Regions from separate parts of the Homo sapiens genome. Here regions 1, 2, 3, 5 and 6 are each linked to region 4. Evidence: promoter capture Hi-C in 16 types of primary human blood cells and fetal thymus (Javierre and others, 2016). All regions are on one chromosome and are shown on one strand. The core of a region is centred on a gene start or on the middle of the fragment in contact, and the rest is flanking DNA. Distances in the headings are between cores, read along the strand shown. Region 1 overlaps XPNPEP1 (X-prolyl aminopeptidase 1). Region 2 overlaps ADD3 (adducin 3). Region 3 overlaps ADD3 (adducin 3). Region 4 holds the start of SMC3 (structural maintenance of chromosomes 3). Region 5 overlaps ADD3-AS1 (ADD3 antisense RNA 1). Region 6 overlaps XPNPEP1 (X-prolyl aminopeptidase 1).

Region 1 (3,297 bases), core at 499-2,998, 670 kb before region 4:
CGGCTGGACTCTTCCATTCAGGGACATAGTACTCTAGGGATGCCCCACCCCTTTCTGGGCAAGCTTGGGAGAGATGGAAGATCCGCAGGGTTTACCTAGACTTCTCCATCAGCAAAGGCAAGGAAAGAGTTCCTCCAAAGGGAGGTGGAATTAACAGCAAATGGACATGTTTAGTTTGGGATGGAGACAAGGTCTGGGGTAAGAATGTCCAGACATGACCTAAGTGGTCAACATTCCAGAAAGACATTGCTAAGCAAGGCTGGCCACAGCCTCACCTCCACACTGACAGGCTATGCAGAAGCCAGACAAGCACTGGGCCCAGGGCTGTCACTCTCCTTCTCCCAGGCATGAAGCTGGCAACGCCCAGGGGCGGTCTCCTTAGAACACAGCATAGGGCCTAAAATAAACCAAAGCTGTAGCATGCTAGGAAAAAGGCACAAAGAAGCACAGCTGCTGGCTTTTTCTCAAAACCACCCACTTCTCTCCATTTCTAATAGCAGCACTCAGTCCAAGCCTCCATCATCTCTACCTGGACTACCGCCCCTACAATCCACTCTGCACATACACTCAGAGTGAGCTTTTCCAAATATCTAAGATCATGTTAGCAACCTCCTTAAAACCCTCCAATGGCTTCCTATTATATTTAAGATAAAATCCAAACTCTGGCCCAGTCAAGGTACCAGCTGATCTGACTTTGCCAGTCCTCTTGCAGCTCTGCTCCCATTCACCATGCTCCAGACACACCCACCTCCTTTCTGCTCTTTGCATATCCTGAGCTCATTCCTGCCTCAAGGCCTTGGCACATGTGCTTCCTTGTGCCTATAAAAGTATTTCTGATCATGGTATGGCTAGGTCCTTCTCATCATTACATTTGAGATCAAATATCACCTCTACAGAGAGGCCTACCTGTACTACCCAGCTATAATAGCCACCTGGCCACTTTTAAGTCTCTGTATAGCACACACATACTCTAGATATTTGTCTTTTTTTTTTTTTTTTTCTTTTGGAGACAGGATCGCCTTCTGTTACCCTAGCTAGAGTGTGGTGACACAATTATGGCTCATTGTATCCTTGACCTGTCAGGTTCAAGCAATCCTCCCACCTCAATCTTCTCAATAGCTGGGACTACAGCAGGCACACACCTTTTTTTTTTTTTTTTTTGTAGAAACGGGGTTTTACCACGTTGCCAGGCTGGCCTTGAACTTCTGGGCTCAAGTGATCAGCCTGCCTCAGCCTCCCAAAGTGCTAGGATTACAGGCAAGAGCCACCATGCTGGGCAATGTTTCTCTTCTTAATGAACTTTTTATATGTTTATTGTCTTGTTCCTCAACCCCCATCTTAACCCCAAGCATATAAGTTCCATGAGATCAGGGTATCTGTCCTGTCCCTGCACTCAGCACAGGTGACTAGATCCTCAACCCACATTTGTATTATAAATGAACAAGCAGAAAGAGACATGAAGCTTTTCCCTACATCCAGTTAAAACCTCAACCATATCTACGAAGATGGACGAAGGGACCATGAGCCAAGGAATGCAGGTGGCCTCCAGAAACTGGAAAAGGCAAGGAAATGGACTCTCCCTGGAGCCTGCAGAAGTAACATAGCCCTGCTGACCCATTTTAGACTTCAGACTTCCAGAACCATAAGAGAATAAATTTGTTTTAAGTCACTGTGGTAATTTGTTATAGCAGTGATAGGAAACTAATACATTATCTAATGGGGAAAAGATCGTAAGGGATTATAAATGGGGTTTCAAATTCAAATACCTCAGGGTACAGGACAAAGGATATCTTTTCTAAAGACAGCAGCTCCTACTCAGCTCTGATTTCTGAAATGCAGGCCACATGTTGCTAACCTTCAATATTTCAGAAGAAGCCAGAAATATGGGTTCATGAGAAATTACCCAATTTTTAAATGTTGGCATCTAATTCCAACAATATAAACAATACATAGCCAAATAAAGCATCTGTAAACTACAAAAAAAAAAAAAGCTAGTCATCTCTCAAAAATCTGGTTCAAGTGCTCCCTTTTCCATGAAGCTTCCTGACCCACTTCAGCTTTCAGAGGCTCCCACATTTCTGAATTTTACAGGACCATCCATGTTGGCACTTATCCATACCCTACCTTGGATAATGCTGACAAATAATGTTAGCTAAGATTATTTAGTCTGTATTGTTTATTATTGTCTCAACACCTACTAGTCAATAACTGTATTCATTTCCTCTCATTCTAATCCTCACAGCAGCCCTGGAAGGTATCATCCCTCGCTAATCTACAGATGAAAAAAATGAAGCTTAGAGAAATAACTAACTTCCCCAAGGTAACACCACAGTAAATGGCAGAACCAAGATCTGAACTCAGGTCTGACTTTTTTTTTTTTTAAGATGGGGTCTTGCTTTGTCGCCTGGGCTGGAGTGCAGTGGCGCAATCTAGGCTCACTACAACCTCCACCTCCCAGGTTCACGCGATTCTCATGCCTCAGTCTCCCAAGTAGCTGGGATTACAGGCGCCCACCACCACACCCAGCTAATTTTGGTATTTTTAGTAGAGACAGGGTTTTGCCATGTTGGTCAGGCTGGTCTCGAACTCCTGACCTCAAGTGATCCGCCTGCCTCGACCTCCCAAAGTGCTGGGATTATGGACATGAGCCACTGCACCCAGCCTCAGGTCTGACTTTCGAAAGCCCATACCCTTGCAAGCTGCCAAGCAACCTCTTCTACTTTTGTACAGAAGTTGTACACATCTAGTCTCACAATTGGATTATAAATTCTGAGGGAACAAGGAATACGAGGTGTATGCTGCACTTACCTCTACTTTCATCAGCCACAGAATAGACATCTCCTACAACCAGCAGTTAGAACTCTGTTCAAGCCTGGTTCCCCACTTACTAGCTGGGTGAACCTGGGGCTCAACTTCCTCATCTGTAAAATGGGGATGAACATAATGCCCACCTTGAAGGGTTGAGGTGTGACATAAAGCAATTAGCGCATGCCGAACATCTGATGAACTGCAGCACTTATTGCTATGAACTGCACCGAGCTTGACTCTATAGCAAACATAAGAAACTATCTTCTCGAAGTGGACAATCGGCAATAGTAGACAGATATTCCATGAAATATTAACACTAATAAACAGCCATATAAACGATGCTGAACATGCAGTGTGGTATTTGCTATAGTTTAAAGGATGCTCAGATGTGCCTTAGATCCATCAGACCAAGCTCAGAGGTTTGACTGGGCCACCAAGGATAGGCGAAGAGAGCAGGAAAACAGTCCAGAGGGAAAGGTGTGACAAGGC
Region 2 (3,168 bases), core at 171-2,670, 540 kb before region 4:
TTTGTATTACAGTGCTGTTTTGAGAGCTATTGCCTACAAGCAACCTCTACTCCTTCTCTAACTCTCCCATTGATGAAGTTTAAAAAACGAAACCAAACCACTTGCTCCACCCACTATCTTTAATGGTTGGTGACTCCTGACCAGCTTCTTGAAAACAGGTGATAAAAATAAATTTGTAAGTCCAGGCACGGTGGCTCACGCCTGTAATCCCAGCACTTTGGGAGACCGAGGCAGGTGGATCACCTGAGGTCGGGAGTTCGAGACCAGCTGACTAACATGAGGAAACACTGTCTCTACTAAAACTACAAAATTAGCTGGGCGTTGTGGCGCATGCCTGTAGTCCTAGCTACTCGGGAGACTGAGGCAGGAGAATCCCTTGAACCCGGAGGGGGAGGTTGCAGTGAGCTGAGATTGTGCCATTGCACTCCAGCCTGGGCAACAAGAGCAAAACTCTGTCCCTCAAAAAATCAAAATAAAAAATAAATTTATGGCTACTATCCATTGGGCACCTGCCATGTGCAAGGTACAGTGCTAGGTACTTTAGGTAAAATCATGAATCCTCACATCAGTTCCACCGGATTTATATTCTAAATTACGAAGAAACAGATTCAGATACATTGTGACTTTGCTCTGGGTAAGTGGCAACTAGTAGGTGGCAGAATGGAATTCCAACCTAAGCCAGCCTGGTTCTAGAACCAGTGTTCTTTCAGCTGTATTATACTCCCCTATGTTTTCATTTCCATGTGTGTCCTTTAACATGAAGCGGAGTACTGTTTATAAAGGAGTTTCTTGGCAAATGGTGTTGACTGATCAGTACTTAGGATCCTTAAGTTGTTTTCCTTTGTCTTGGTGGATGACTTTAATGCGCCACCCTCCTACCCTATCTGGTACCTAGTGAGTGGCCTAGATGTTAATGAAGAGACATGAGCTATTTTTTTTTTTTAAGTAACTTTTAAAAATTGACAAAAGTTACATGTATGTATTATCTAAAACATGATTTGGAATACGTATACATTTAGAACATAAGGTTTTAGAATATGATTTATGAGAATGCATAAATCAGTCTAATTGACATATGTATTACCTCAATACTTTTTTTTTTTTGTGATAACATTTAAAGTTTCCCCTCTTAGCAACTTCAAAGAGATTTAATCTTATTGGCAGCCAGTTGAACGGTATAGATCAAGCCTATGACTTTCTCACCTGGAAAATCAGTCACAAAAAATGTTTCAGATGCCTTCAGGAAGAGATACAAGAAGAGTCTCCTTTGCTAAATGCCAGGAATATCAAATCTTGGACTTCAGAGACTGGCCATATAAGGAAAGAGATTTTTATAGACAAAGAGGGTTGAAGTAAAATAATGGGATAGAATAAGCATATTAAGCTGGATAAGTGTTATGTAATCCTAGGTCATCTCTTAATGGCCATGTCCTTGACATTGTTGCATTAAGAATGAGAGCTCGGAGAAATAGTCCATGTGTTGGCATGCTAGTCTCTAAGTTAGAATAGATGTGATCACAAATCATGAGTGCTCTTAAAGGGTGGATCCTGCATTCACTCATCCACTTCTGCCTTCATTCAGGCTCAAGCAAGTGGTGGTGACTTTGGAAAGATAAGGAGAGAAAAGGAAGGACAAAAAAGGAAAAAGGGAGTAAAACCAGACTGGGGAAGTGGGCAGCAGGGATACTTGGGCAAATTCAGAGTGCATAGTATTTGTACATGTACATGCATATTGTATTTATAATACTAAGAGCTATGTAAACTGTAAAATACTATTTCAGGAAAGAGTATAGTATGCTAGAAAGAGAATTTCTGACTAGGTGGTGTGGATTCAGCTTTCTCAGCTCTACCATTACCCTAAGTGTGTAACCTTATGAAAGTGTTAGAATCTGAAATAATCGCTATTCTATTAATACTTCTCTGGCTTTCCTTCCTGATTAAGATCATGCTAAGTTTGAAAACACTTTGTGCGTGCTCATATGCTGTATACATGTTGTTATTGTTTTTATACTGTTAATTATTTCTCTTCATCTAAAGTATTGCCTACCAGAAACTTTATCGAGAGGAAAAAATTTGTACCCAAGAACACACACATTATGATTAAGAGAAGTTAGAGTTAAATTAAATAGCCAATTTAAATAGAGCCAATTTGGCTCTCATCCCTAGGCTTTATAAAAGAGACAGTGGCAGCCTTGTGGGTGAGGGGAATGTGGACCTAATTACTCATTTAATTTAATCATTCATCCCTTTAACTCCTTTAAAACCTGACTTTTATAGGTCGATTATATAATGTGTGTGAGCACAGTGTTTCTCTTTGAATGAAAAACCCTGTTGAATGGCTTTACAAAAAGAAGATTTTGATATATTCATAGTAATAAACTTGGTTTGCATTTCTCTGAGGCTTATGGTCTTCAACTTCTGACCAAGTTAGTGAAGGGCTGCTATAACTACCAGATGGCAGTCTTTTCTGATCCAGTGTTAGATGCCAACAGACTAATAGCAGAATAGATGTAAGCAGAATTCAAGCACAGCATTTGAAGTATTGTTTAAATTGGTCATCTAGCAAATTTAATATAAAGAGGATAAAGAGAATATGTTCATGTCGCCATACAATTGTTTGGTTCTCAGGGCAGTCCCAGAATGCATCTTTAGTTTGTGTTCCATGTAAAATGCAGGGTACAGGGATATTTTGCCAAGTGCTGGTTTGAAATTTACTTGGGATCCATCCAGCTGGCAGATCAGCTGTGCTAATCAGATGGGCCCGTTTCTGGGGAATGGGATTTCATAGAGGGAGCAGTGTTCTTGAAGTATAGTTACTTAAAAACCAGTTAATTTTTAATTTAAAAATTCTCATAAGTGCTATATTAAAATGTATATAGTGCAAGTATTATGTATATAGTGCAAATACTTTGTGCATTCTTGTAAATAATAAATAGGGACAATAAAGTCATTGTGCTATACTCAGCTGCCTTTAATTTCTATTTTGAATCTCTGGGACCGTAATTTGCTAGTTGCCTGCAGTGTTTATTAGGATTAACTCATCTGCATTTCCCACTAATGTAGATCATTAGTTCTAAGAGATTTCTCAGGATAAATAGTGCCAAATATGTTTGGGAAACTACTTTCTGTACCATCTCTTAAAGGTTTATATTGTACCTTAGCATAGCA
Region 3 (3,113 bases), core at 423-2,922, 550 kb before region 4:
GATAACCTAACTCCAAGTAATATACACGAAATTATTTTTTTAAGCTTCCATACCTCTTTAAATTTATTCTTGTGATTTCTTACTTTCCCCTCCCTCACCAAAGGAAGTGCTCACCTTTTCAGATGGAATGAAAGAGGAGAGTGCTGATGTGAGTGACTCAGCCTGTTTAACTCTGCCTCTGTGGTGGTTTGTTGGTTACCTACTAGAGGAGGTGGAACTCAAACAATGTAAAAGCAATCAGGTTGGAGAAGTGCTGAGTTTTTAGTGTCATGGGAACTCGGTGTATGTCTTTGTCACCATTAGCAGTGTTTCTGTGCAGTTCTTCCACAATGGCTCAGCTCATCCTGAGCAAGGACAGCATTTCTGTTTTCCTTTTCCATTCAATATTCTCATCCTATCATCTTTTGATTTGCTAGAATGACTAAATGCTAGAGCAGAAAGTTGGGTTTACTCATCCTCCTGAAGAAGATAGTTAGGCTTACTTGGTATATCTAAGGAAGTAAATTTGGAAGTCAAGGCCTCCCCAGGGACTTCTAAGAACACTCCACTTTTACGCCCTAGGAAGTTAGAGTGAGCAACTGTTAGCTGCATCGTGACTTCTGTTCTCATTTGTCTTAATACATGACAAAAAAATTCTAGAAGGTCAGCCTTTTAATATCTAAGGAGGTGGTTGGAAAATGGCAATGGTCAGAGCTCAAATGGAGTTGTGATTGGGCATAAGTGCCTTGGATGAGTGGAATGCTTCATTGCCTGAGCTGCACAAATGGGAGGTAGAAAGGGATTTGCAATGAAGTTGATGCATTGTTCGTATTCCTTATTTCCACAGCCAACTTTTTAAAGGTGAAAACAGTGTACCTCTTACCTTGCCTTTCTTTTACAGTTTTTTTATTTTTATTTTTTTTGAGACAGAGTTTTTTACTCTTGTTGCCCAGGCTGGAGTGCAATGGCGCAATTCTCAGCTCACCGCAACATCTACCTCCTGGGCTCAAGGGATTCTCCTGCCTCAGCCTTCCTGAGTATCTGGGATTACAGGCATACGCCACCACGCCCGGCTAATTTTGTATTTTTAGTAGAGATGGGGTTTCTCCATGTTGGTCAGGCTGGTCTCGAACTCCCAACCTCAGGTGATCCACCCGCCTCGGCCTCCCAAAGTGCTGGGATTACAGGTGTGAGCCACCGCGTCCAGCCTTCTTTTACAGTTTTTATTGTCAGAGTTGAGTTCACTTTCCTAAGGGAAGGTAGAATTTTTTTTTTGAGACGGAGTCTCGCACTGTTGCCAGGCTGGAGTGCAGTGGCGTGATCTCGGCTCAATGCAACCTCCGACTCCCTGGTTCAAGTGATTCTGCTGCCTCAGCTTCCCGAGTAGCTGGGTTTACAGGCATGGGCCACCACGCCTGGCTAATTTTTTGTATTTTTAGTAGAGATGGGGTTTCACCATGTTGGCCAGGATGGGAAGGTAGAATTTTTAAGGTGAATTCTATCTGATTGCTTAACATTTTAGCTTTAAATTGGAGATTGCACTAAAAGGAATTTTTTTCTTTCTCCACAACTGTCTGCTTGTTAAATTTCGAATAAAGATTTTCAAAATAGAAGTGTGACAAACCTTACTCAACATTTAATAATTGGGAGCTATTATTTATTAAAGTACACATTATCAATGAATTAGAAATTCATTGCTTTAAAAATACTTGTTTTTTGAAAAACTAGAGCTGCACTAATTTTCATATTAGAATGTTTGATTTTTTTTTTTTTTTTGAGATGGAGTCTCGCTCTGTCGCCCAGGCTGGAGTGCAGTGGCCTGATCTCGGCTCACTGCAAGCTCCGCCTCCTGGGTTCATGCCATTCTCCTGCCTCAGCCTCCCAAGCAGCTGGAACTACAAGCACCCACCACCATGCTCGGCTAATTTTTTATATTTTAGTGGAGACAGGGTTTTACCATGTTAGCCCGGATGGTCTCGATCTCCTGACCTCGTGATCCGTCCGCCTCGGCCTCCCAAAGTTCTGGGATTACAGGTGTGAGCCACTGCGCCTGGCAGAATGTTTGATTTTTTTTTTAAGTGGACATCAAATTTATTTTCAGTTAAAAATGCTGAAAGTAATACATTTTTACTTCATCTGTCATAGTGAATGTTGATAATGATAAAATCTTATTTCTCTAAGCACTTTGCCATAGCTAAATACCTTAGTAAAACATGCGATAGACAAGGGTCCGGTCACTAGCCACAGAAAGGCTGTCACTGTTATAGCAGAATGTAATAGGGAAGGAACATTTTATGCCTCAATAAGAACAGTGTATTTGCTTGAGATAGTAATAACCTCTGAGAAGCTGATTAATTGGTAATCACTTAAGTTAGATGATTTTATATTGTTTGATGTCTTATAATCTAAACGTCCCTGTGCTCTTTTAGAGTGTCTGCCTTGACCAGTCAGCATTTCAGGAGGGATTGTGACTGTCAGTTAAGTGCTTTGAAGAGAGAACCCCTGCTTTGTGTCACACCTGAATGTAACAGGACATACTTCTTGGGGCTGTTTAATTTGGGCTCAAAGGGAAGAGTGCCATCTACTGAATGGCCAGCATCAAGTTGAGCAGCTCCTGTTTTCCTTACAGAACTCAGCCAGTTCCTGGAGAAACCAGGCCCAGCTTCATTTGGAGGATTTGACAGGATCTTAGTACCAAGTGGAATTGTTGCCTGCTTAATTTTAATTATGCTTCCCAGCAGGAGGCCTAAACACATGATGAAGAACTAATTCAGTACTTGTTGGAATGCATGGGAAAAGAGAAACCTGAAGAAGTTGTTGAGCCTTATGTTAAAAACAGCCGAGTAGTGGTGAAATTAAATTAAGTGGTAAAGAAAATTATTTTAATGAGAGCAGTCTTTCAATAGCAGGTCTGGTTGGTTATTGATGGCTCCTGCAGACAATAATGATGTTAAAATCTGCTTGGGCTTAGAATCAGCAAACAAATCATTTGCCTAACTGGAGGTAAGGGTTTTAAGAATACTTGAATACTTCGATTGTTTTTTTCTCCTGCCCTTTTTGTCTCATTTTGTAAGGCAATGATTCCTACTTGAGTGAATTCACTGTTTCAAAGTAGATTTTGTTGTTGTTTTGGT
Region 4 (2,945 bases), core at 316-2,815:
TAGAGACCAGCCTGGGCAACATAAGGAGACCTGGTCTCTACAAAAACAAAAAAAAGCTGGGCTTGGTGGCCACAGCCTGTAGGCTGAGGTGGGAGGATGGCTTGAACCCAGGAGTTTGAGGCTGCAGTGAACCATGACCGAGCCACTATGCTCCAGCTCCACCCTGGGTGACAGAGCAAGATCCTGTCAAAAAAAAAAAAAAAAGTTAGAAATAAAGAAAAGAAAATGCTTACATATTTATTTAATTTATTTTGAGACAGTCTCGCTCTGTTGCCCAGGCTGGAGTGCAGTGGCGCGATCTTGGCTCACTGCAACCTCTGCCTCCTGGATTCAAGCAATTCTCCTGCCCCAGCCTCCCGACTAACTGGGATTACAGGCACCCGCCACGACGCCCAGCTAATTTTTGTATTTCGAGTAGAGACGGGGGTTTCGCCATGCTGGCCAGGCTGGTCTTGAACTCGTGACCTCAGGTGATCCTCCCCCCTCAGCCTCCCAAAGTGCTGGGATTACACGCTTGAGCCACTCGACCAGGCCTATTTATTTTTTTAAACCAAGGGCTGGATAGGATTTGATCCGGGCTCCAGATAAAGGACTCCTAGGGAGATACCCTGGTTAGCAGAGGCAGTTAGGAGGCTACTAAAAATAGTTCAATCTAGAAATAATTAGGGCCAGAATTGTCTCCAGCAGCGGGCGGGGGTGGGGCTGGGGATGATTTGGGTAGTTATTTTGTTCTCTTCCCAGCAAGTAATTTCAGAGCAGCCCAGAGATTCATTTTCTAAACAAATGATGTTTTTCTCCCAAGACTGACAAGGATCAGACAGACCTAGGGTTGCCACTAGCACCTAGTATCTTTCAGGCTGTTTTCTTTTGTTTTTAAAGTGGATTAAAAGCTTTCAGCCTTACCTAAATCTTTGTTGCAATTGTACAGATCTGCCTAGATTTATAGCAGATGGTAGAACAGAAACAGTTCCCGACGGAATTAATCATCACATTATTAAAACAAATTTTCGAGCATTGACAAATCCCTTCGGGGTTGTCCTCCGAGTGGGCAATTCGTAACCAGCTTGGGGCGTGCTAAGATTGTAAACGTTCCTATGGAGAGCGATAACAAAGGGGCAGCAGTGACTCCGCACACAGAATTCCAAGAATCACCAGCATTCCATGTGTTCCAAGGCTAGCACAGTGCGCGCGAGGTCCGCTTTTTTAAACAGCGCGGAATCACGTGGCCGACAGCCCGCGGCGCTACTGGCCCTCGGAGTCTCCCTCTTGGCTTTGGCGCGGAACCTTTCCCCCTTTGTGGACGCGACCATTGGCCCCGCGCTCGGAGGTGGTACGGACCAACCCTACGGTCATAGATTTTCCGAGTGAAGCTTTTGACTAAGTCTCAGGAAAGCGTTAGCTACAGAATTCTAGATTCAAAAGAAATCCACCAAAAAACGCTGTGGAGGACTGGTTTTGCCTAAAAGAAAGAGCAGACCTGAACTTGACTCCTCCTACGCCCTGTGAAGGCTGCAAGGTGGTTCCGTCCGAGGCGCGGACTCCGCCCCCACGAGCGCCGCCATTTTGTTTGGCTGAGGGGAGCGAGCGGCGCTTTGGGGGAGGGGTCGCGTAGGCGCCTCACCTGACCCTGCGGCCGTGCGGTTGCTGCTCCGGGGCAGGTCTCCTTCCAGGCCAGGGGCCCGGAATCATGTACATAAAGCAGGTAAGGCCTTCGCGTCCCTCCACCCCGTCATGGGCCGGTAAGGGCCGCTCCTTGAGGCGGGAGTGTTGCGGCGCCACCCGCAGCCTCTCCCCTGTCTCCACAGGCTGGACCAGGGCTGGGCGGGGACTGTGGGGGAGGAGGGAGACCCGGGTCCCGCTAGTGCCCCGGCTGCGGGGTCGCGGAGAATTGGGGCACTCCTTTGCAGCCCCGGCCTCCCTGCTGGCGCTTGTCTGGGAGAGGCAGGATCTCCGAGAGGTGTGGAAGGGCCGGCGGGCGGGCCGCTGGGAGGGACTGGGCCTTCCTGGGTGGCCCCAGAGCTGGCGGGGGGCACCCCGCCGGGGCGGCCGCGGGCGGGAAGGGCTGTGTGGTCCTGCAGGGGTGGCCTCACACGGCCCATGTGCCTGGGATGTGTGGAAAGGTGGCTTCCCCGGCCCGGGGGCGGCCCTGGGGGCATTGGCTGGGGTGTCGTCACCTGTCACTGCGGGGAGCCGTTCTTCTCCCCAGTTAACCCGCGAAGTGAGCGGGACCCTCCTGCTTGCAGGATACGGAGCGCCGCCTCCCTCGGTTGTTTACTTCTGTCAAAATGGTCTTCCCGCGCGGGACTCCACCACAAAGATGAGCCCAGGCACACGGCCTTGGAGACGGTTTTCTGTTGGGTCTGTCGGGCTCTGAGCACTCCTTCTTTGGAACGTGGGTTCTTTCAGGCTGGCCGGCGTGAGTGACTGAAAGCAGCACTCGGTGGTCTTGGAGTCAGGAGAGCTGGGGCCCGTCGGCCTGCTTTTATAGACTTGCTATTGTACTGCAGCGTTTAGGGTTCAGTTAAGCTCACACAGTGTTTTTGATTTTGAAAGGTCCTTAACAGGTTGACAGCATAACTCCTAAAAAAAAATAAAACCCAGCAGCATTGCCTTGGCAAAGATTACCGATAAAAGTACCTTTTTTTTTTTTTAGCAGATTTTTAATCACCACTTTCCAAAATGAATTTTTCTTATATGAAATTTCGAGTTTTCTATATTGCATTAAATGAAAAACAAGAAAGAAATGCAAGAGAAAAATGTTAATTTTTTTTGTGGGGTGGGTTCTCAAAAATGTTTTTTATTTACTAGGTGATTATCCAGGGTTTTCGAAGTTACAGAGATCAAACAATTGTAGATCCCTTCAGTTCAAAACATAATGTGATTGGTAAGTGTTCTTGGTTTACTCGGTCATATTTATAGTCTATACAGATAATGTAAATTCTGTC
Region 5 (3,033 bases), core at 484-2,983, 570 kb before region 4:
TATTTTCGCTTAACTCCCCGTGCCTAAAACCTCCACCTGGCAACTTTCATTTAACCGAAAACAAAGGACCTCGATCTCCTGTACAGCCCTCACTCCACTGGACAGGATAGGCGCTCAGATGGTCCTTCTAAGATAAGGAACAGATCCCTGATTTGGCCACTCTTGGATTTCTTAGCTCAGAATTCTGAACACACATTCAGGTGCATCTGCCATGTAGGATCATTCTCAGGATATGCACATGTCAAGTTATCACTGTCAGGTGTGTCTAACATTACCTGGATTCAAAACCCAACCACTGCTATTTACCTGCTCTTTGATCTTGGGCAAATTACTTAACCTCTCAGTGCCTTAGTTCCACTGTTTCTAAACAGGTATATTAGGGCAATACCTCATGGAGGTGTATTAAATGAAACAACCTACATTAAAAAGCACTTAACACAGTACCTGGCACATAGTGAGTGCTCAGCAAATGTTAGTAATACTATTATGTTTTAATAAGAATGGTGATTTTTCTCCACCCCCATTTGAAATGAAAATGATTGGCCATGCAGAATCAATATTGTTTTATATCCAGATTTTGTTATGTTTAATTTTCACAAATACCAACCGCTATTAAAAATAAAAAATATTAACTAGACTGGTTTTTACAACTTGATCTCTATTTATACTGTATATAATCTGCAAGTGATTAGATTTCATTTTTATTACTCTTGTTAAACTACAACATGCTTCGTTATCTCTCCCTGGGTGTGGCTTACACCCAGAACTCCTGCTGGCTTTGTTCAGTATGCTTTCTGTTGTTACTTTAGTTTCAGTAATCATTGTGAATGAGACTGTGAGAAACTTGGCTTGTTCAGAAGATACTGTGCATAAGACATGAGGTAAGTCATTAATTTCTTAGCGTTTTAAAGAGTCATAAGTCTTTTCAAAAATGGGGGAAGGAGGAAGGTCAACAAATGACTAGGATTTAACTCAAATGATTAAAAGGACAGGATGTTCCTCTTTTTCCCCTGGGGCCAGAGAAGGAAATGAGAACTAAATTTAATGTTATGAATTCTCATGTTCATAAATTAATGTCTTAGGTTTATGTGTCCTAGTAATTATGCCCTGCTTTGGAAAGCCTTGCTCTGAAAGTTTAGTCTGAAGGTAGAAACTCAGTATCTGGGAGGGCTTAGTAGAAACTATGAAATAAAAGTGTAGACAGTTTGCAGCAAGGTATTTAAATCATGCGTTAAACTTTCCTTCCTACCTCAGTGGTGTGACTGATGTCAAGCCATGGAGCTCTTCACTCTCTTCGGCCTCAATGAATTGTGCTGTTCAGGTTCTGCTATCATACATTTACACTTTAGTGAGAATTTAGGTTAATGTGTTACTACTCCCAGGAAGGATTTGTTTTGAAAGCTTTACCTCTAACTATAGATCACAAGGTTTTTATTGCTATGCCATAGATTATATTTCAAGCAACTGAGGTCACTCTAACTTAAGCAAAGCAGGAATTTATTGGAAGAATAAGGCACAGAGCTCACAGAATTGAAGAGAAAGCTGAAGAATAGGGTCTTGTAAAGACAGGAGCTAAGTGGGTTTTATGAGGTCTTCGTAGCAGTATCTAATCTCATTTTCTTCTAGGACCTCCTTTAGGTGGAATTCTAATCTTAAGTCTTTGTGTTATTACTCAAGATTCAAATGCTAGGAAGAGATTATCTGTTTGATTCAGCATGGGGTCAGCCCCTATCTCAGAAGAGGGTGGGGTGCCAAGCTGCAGCAATGAGGTAAAAAAAGGCTCCAAAGGAATATTGGGGCACCCTTACTGGAAAAGGCAAGGAATGCTGTGCAAACAAAAACAAACATTTACTATAATCAACAAGTAAAGGAATTTCACAGACCTGTAAATAGGGATACTTTGGAGATATAGTCAGAGAAGGCTGTTGCTGCCCTTGAAATCCCTGCACTTAGGTAGCCATTTTTCTTCACATGATGAATCCTTCTGAAGGACCCCTTCACAATGACAGTCTATAAGTCAAACGAGACAGAAGGGACTCTAGGATTCTTTCGCTGCTTTTCTCTCAAAAGCTTTTAAATCACACCGTATGATTTGACTATATTTGGGAATGCCATTGAATTCTTAAAGCCATGCTTTGTGGTCTTTTACACAGATGCCACTGAAATGTAGTTTCTAAGGCAAATATTTGAAAGAACACTGATACATCTAAACTTGTAGTCCACTGCACACCTACAGTGCTGGCTAAATGTGCAGCTTCCAGAGTGCAACATCAGACCTACTACAGAAGAGTTTTGATGGGGAAGGGTTAAGATGGGGGCTGATGCTAACTTTTAATAACGATCTAAATCCGGGCGGTTTTCATGTACACTTAAATTTGAGAACTACTGAACCAGTCTCAACAAATCCTAATATTTATTGGGTATATACTCTGTGACCATCAATGTTCTAGACTCTAGACTGTACTAGGGATACAACAATGAACACGATAAAGTTCTTGCTCTTTTGAAGATTCCTATGGGGAGGAAATTAATGATAAATAAGTACAACAAAATTAATTAACAAAATAATTATAAAGTGGAGTTTGTACTCTGAAGAGAAGAAAGAGGGTAATCTCAAACTTAGCAGAAGGGCTCGCTTTTATCTGTTATACTACTTCTTCTCAAGTCTTCTCTGTCTCAGGTAATGGTACTACCATCCATCAAGACACTAAGGTCAAAGGCTTTGGAGATCACTCTGGATTGAGTCCTCTCTTTCTCTCCTTTTCTGCACTCAACTCATGTACTCCATCAGCAAGTCTCCAAAATATACCCAAGATCTTTCACTTCTCTTCTCCACAGCTACCCCTACAACAAGACCCCATTTCCTCTTGTCAGGATGACTTTAATGGCTTCCTAACTAGCTTCCCAGTCTCTAGTCACATCTCTCTAGTGTTCATTCTGCACATAGCAGCCAGGAAATTCCAAAAATGCAAATGAGACTGTAGCCTTCCTTTGCTTAAAACCTTCTGAAAGTCAAACTCCTCACCATGATCT
Region 6 (3,114 bases), core at 275-2,774, 690 kb before region 4:
TTTGTTGGCTGTGCATGTAACAGATGGGGATGCACAGAACTCAAAATACCCAGTGCAAAGCAAAGCGGTTTGAACCAGGCAGAGCTGAGGCTGAAGCCCAATGGCCACACCTAATGACATTTCCCCCCATCTCCACAGGAAGATCTGTCAGTCCTAGACATATCAGTGCCCCTCTGTCTCACAAGGAAGGGAGGCTCGGCCCTGTGGGTCCATGGGTTCTTGTAGACCACGTGGTAAAAAAACCACATACTGGGATGCCAGGCTTCAGGCTCAGGGGGACAGGAAGAGAGGGTACTGATTATCTCTCCACCCAAAACAGGTTGCCTCACAACCTACTACTAAGTTTTTTTTTGGTATGGAACTGATGGAGCTCACAAGATGTATGGACTAGTACAAAACAGCTGCTGTTACCAAGAAAGAAAACTACTCAAAAATTCCAGTCATGGGCCAAGCACAGTGGCTCACACCTGTAATTCCAGCACTTTAGGAGGCTGAGGCAGGAGGATTGCTTGAGTCCAGAAATTCGAGACAAGCCTGGGCAACACATCAAGATCCTCATCTCTACAAAAAAATCTAAAAATTAGCCAGGAGTGGTAGCACATGCCTATAGTCCCAGCTACTCAGGAGGCTGAGGCAGGAGGATTGCTTGAGTCTAGGAGTTCAAAGTTGCAGTGAGTTGTGATGGCACCACTGCGCTCCAGCCTGGGCAGCAGAGCAAGACCTTGTCTCCAAAAAAAAAAAAACTTAGTCATCAAGATGCAAGGGCTATGCATACAGTTCCTGCAGCTTCAAAAAGGAAAGAGGGACACCCATCTGACTACCCTGCAGAGAATGCCAGTGCCATACTGAGCCTAAGAAGAGGCTCCCAAAAGGCAGAGGCTTGGGGATTGGGAGAAAATAAAATCTTAGAAGTCTTATTTCCCTTCATTTTACAGTCTCAACAGACAGATGAAGGTGGGCACAGAGGCCTCTGGTAAAATAATGTCTCTCCCCTGCTCAGGCTCCTGTGCAGAAGCAGCAAGGCCAGGCAGCATGCTCCTCCGCATGCCTTACGCGTAGTGAATGATGGCGCCGTTGGGTCCCGTACTGGAAATTGTTGGGAAGCTCAGGTCCACAAAGTCTGCCTGTTGCCTGTAACAGAAAGACAGAAAGCAGAGTGGCTTAAAGGTTTTTACTGTGCTAAGATTCAGGGCCCTTCCAGCCTCATTCAACTAGCAAGAAAATCAGCACGAGGCTCCTGGGTCCCCCCAAATGGATCCTTACCTGCGAAACTCCTCAGCTTTGTCAGCAGCTGAGATCTCTGTCACACCACCTTTGGGAACCTATGAGAAAATTGCTTATAAATCATCTGGTGAGATAAATTCATGTGTGCCTCTTACAAATTAGAGGAGGTACATTAAAAGCTCACTTTTTCCTCAATTGCTTCATCCCAACTGACCAATCTACAGGACACATCTTTAGCAAGGGAGAACTCCCAAAGGCTCTCACCAAAGCTATCTAAAATCCAATAGTTTCTATTCATTTAATTTTTCACTCAACTATTGTGCTTCAGTATTTTATCCTAAAACCTCCCAAAACAACATATCTAAGTTTAAAAATTCAAAAGCATCCCCTCCTAAGAAATCATCGTAAGAAAATCATTCTAGAGAAATAAAAAAGATAAATGCGGAGAGATTATTGCAGGATTACTGATAACAGCAAAAAATTAAAAACAACCCAAACATTTAAAAATAGGAGGACTGGGTTAGTAAATCAGAAGAGCCACTAGATGCAGTTTTCATTTGGATCCTTTTTTAAGGCCTCAATGTACATGGAAAATGTTCACACTATGATTCTAAGAGAATAAAATAAAACACAAAATCATATCTAAGCCAGGTGTGATGGCTCACACCTATAATCCTAGCACTTTGGGAGGCCAAGATAGGTGGATCGCTTGAGCCCAGGAGTTTCAGATCAGCCTGGGCAACATGGCAAAACCTTATCTCTACAAAAAAATCAGAAAAAATCAGGTGGGCTGTAGTCCCAACTAATCGGGAGGCTGAGGTGGGAGGATCACCTGAGCTTGGGGAGGCTGAGGCTGCAGTGAGCTGTGATCACACCACTACTCTCCAGCCTGTGCAACAGATGAGACCCCATCTCAAAATAAGAAAAAAAAAAAGAAAAAAAATTTATCTGCACACTAAGAGACATGTAAAAATAATTTATATTTTTAAAAATAATTTACGGCCAGGCACGGTGGCTCACGCCTGTAATCCCAGCACTTTGGGAGGCCGAGGCGGGCGGATCACAAGGTCAGGAGATCGAGACCATCCTGGCTAACACAGTGAAACCCCGTCTCTACTAAAAATACAAAAAATTAGCCAAGCATGGTGGCGGGCGCCTGTAGTCCCAGCTAGTCGGGAGGCTGAGGCAGGAGAATGGCGTGAACCCAGGAGACGGAGCTTGCAGTGAGCCGAGATCGCTCCACTGCACTCCAGCCTGGGCGATGGAGCAAGGCTCTGTCTCAAAAATAAAAAAAAATAATAAAAATGTAATAATAATAATTTACATAAAGTCCAGGCATGGTGGCTCATGCCTGTAATCCCAGCACTTTGGGAGGCCGAGGTGGGTGGATCACAAGGTCAGGAGTTCAAGACCAGCCTGGCCAAGATGGTGAAACCCCATCTCTACTACAACTACGAAAATTAGCCAGGCGCAGTGGCAGGCGCCTATAATCCCAGCTACTTGGGAGGCTAAGGCAGGAGAATCTCTTGAACCTGGGCAGCAGAGGTTGCAGTGAGCCGAGATCACACCACTGCACTCCAGCCTGGGTGACAGAGTGAGACTCCGTCTCAAAAAATAAAATAAAATAAAATAATAATAATAATTTACATAGATGAACAATCACCAGAAGGAAACATGAGGGAAAAAGTTACACTAGTGGGAATAAAGACAATATTTTCTTTTCCCAATTAAAGAGTTGTTTATACAATACTTAAAGGGAACATGATATTGTTTAATAACACCACAGAGAAACCACCCTCTTGTCAACTAGAGCAAGAAATTAATGGCCAAGAGTCAATTTAATATAAAAAGGCTCAAGGCTTAAACTGAAGTTCAAAATGTACACAAAGA

Evidence for each region. Contacts are between HindIII fragments. The CHiCAGO score rates a contact against its expected background, and 5 or more counts as called.
Region 1: a fragment that was not itself captured here is called in contact with the fragment with the promoter of SMC3 in region 4 in 2 of 17 cell types (naive CD8 T cells and total CD8 T cells); the score reaches 5.3 in naive CD8 T cells.
Region 2: a contact is called between a fragment that was not itself captured here and the fragment with the promoter of SMC3 in region 4, in 2 of 17 cell types (total CD4 T cells and total CD8 T cells). The highest score is 5.9, in total CD4 T cells.
Region 3: a contact is called between a fragment that was not itself captured here and the fragment with the promoter of SMC3 in region 4, in 7 of 17 cell types (total CD8 T cells, fetal thymus, non-activated CD4 T cells and 4 more). The highest score is 9.4, in total CD8 T cells.
Region 5: a contact is called between a fragment that was not itself captured here and the fragment with the promoter of SMC3 in region 4, in 1 of 17 cell types (total B cells). The highest score is 5.1, in total B cells.
Region 6: a fragment that was not itself captured here is called in contact with the fragment with the promoter of SMC3 in region 4 in 1 of 17 cell types (fetal thymus); the score reaches 6.7 in fetal thymus.

The regions. Positions count from the first base shown.
Region 1 is chr10:109,895,291-109,898,587 of GRCh38, forward strand. All of the region lies in intron 3 of XPNPEP1 (X-prolyl aminopeptidase 1), which reads right to left. Among named protein-coding and RNA genes, the nearest start is that of XPNPEP1, 27 kb to the right of the region's middle. The HindIII fragment of the contact is 577 bases long and covers 1,461-2,037 here.
Region 2 is chr10:110,030,815-110,033,982 of GRCh38, forward strand. The region is part of intron 1 of ADD3 (adducin 3); the gene reads left to right. Among named protein-coding and RNA genes, the nearest start is that of ADD3-AS1, 24 kb to the left of the region's middle. RefSeq lists a silencer at 1,337-1,631. The HindIII fragment of the contact is 5,269 bases long and covers 1-3,168 here.
Region 3 is chr10:110,013,639-110,016,751 of GRCh38, forward strand. All of the region lies in intron 1 of ADD3 (adducin 3), which reads left to right. Among named protein-coding and RNA genes, the nearest start is that of ADD3-AS1, 6.8 kb to the left of the region's middle. RefSeq lists enhancers at 261-320, 741-1,546. The HindIII fragment of the contact is 3,260 bases long and covers 43-3,113 here.
Region 4 is chr10:110,566,130-110,569,074 of GRCh38, forward strand. SMC3 (structural maintenance of chromosomes 3) reads left to right here and starts at 1,566. Exons shown (of 29, transcript NM_005445.4): 1 at 1,566-1,702; 2 at 2,809-2,884. The coding sequence starts at 1,688. It overlaps LOC105378483 (a long non-coding RNA gene), which reads right to left and starts at 1,179. Exons shown (of 2, transcript XR_946318.2): 1 at 904-1,179. RefSeq lists enhancers at 1-571, 1,386-1,435, 1,446-1,545 and a silencer at 1,886-2,175. The HindIII fragment of the contact is 2,181 bases long and covers 1,369-2,945 here.
Region 5 is chr10:109,995,566-109,998,598 of GRCh38, forward strand. The region is part of intron 2 of ADD3-AS1 (ADD3 antisense RNA 1); the gene reads right to left. It also overlaps a transcript of ADD3 not described here. Among named protein-coding and RNA genes, the nearest start is that of ADD3, 11 kb to the right of the region's middle. The HindIII fragment of the contact is 669 bases long and covers 1,400-2,068 here.
Region 6 is chr10:109,876,737-109,879,850 of GRCh38, forward strand. It overlaps XPNPEP1 (X-prolyl aminopeptidase 1), which reads right to left. Exons shown (of 21, transcript NM_020383.4): 13 at 1,264-1,322; 14 at 1,054-1,131. Among named protein-coding and RNA genes, the nearest start is that of XPNPEP1, 45 kb to the right of the region's middle. The HindIII fragment of the contact is 6,015 bases long and covers 1-3,114 here.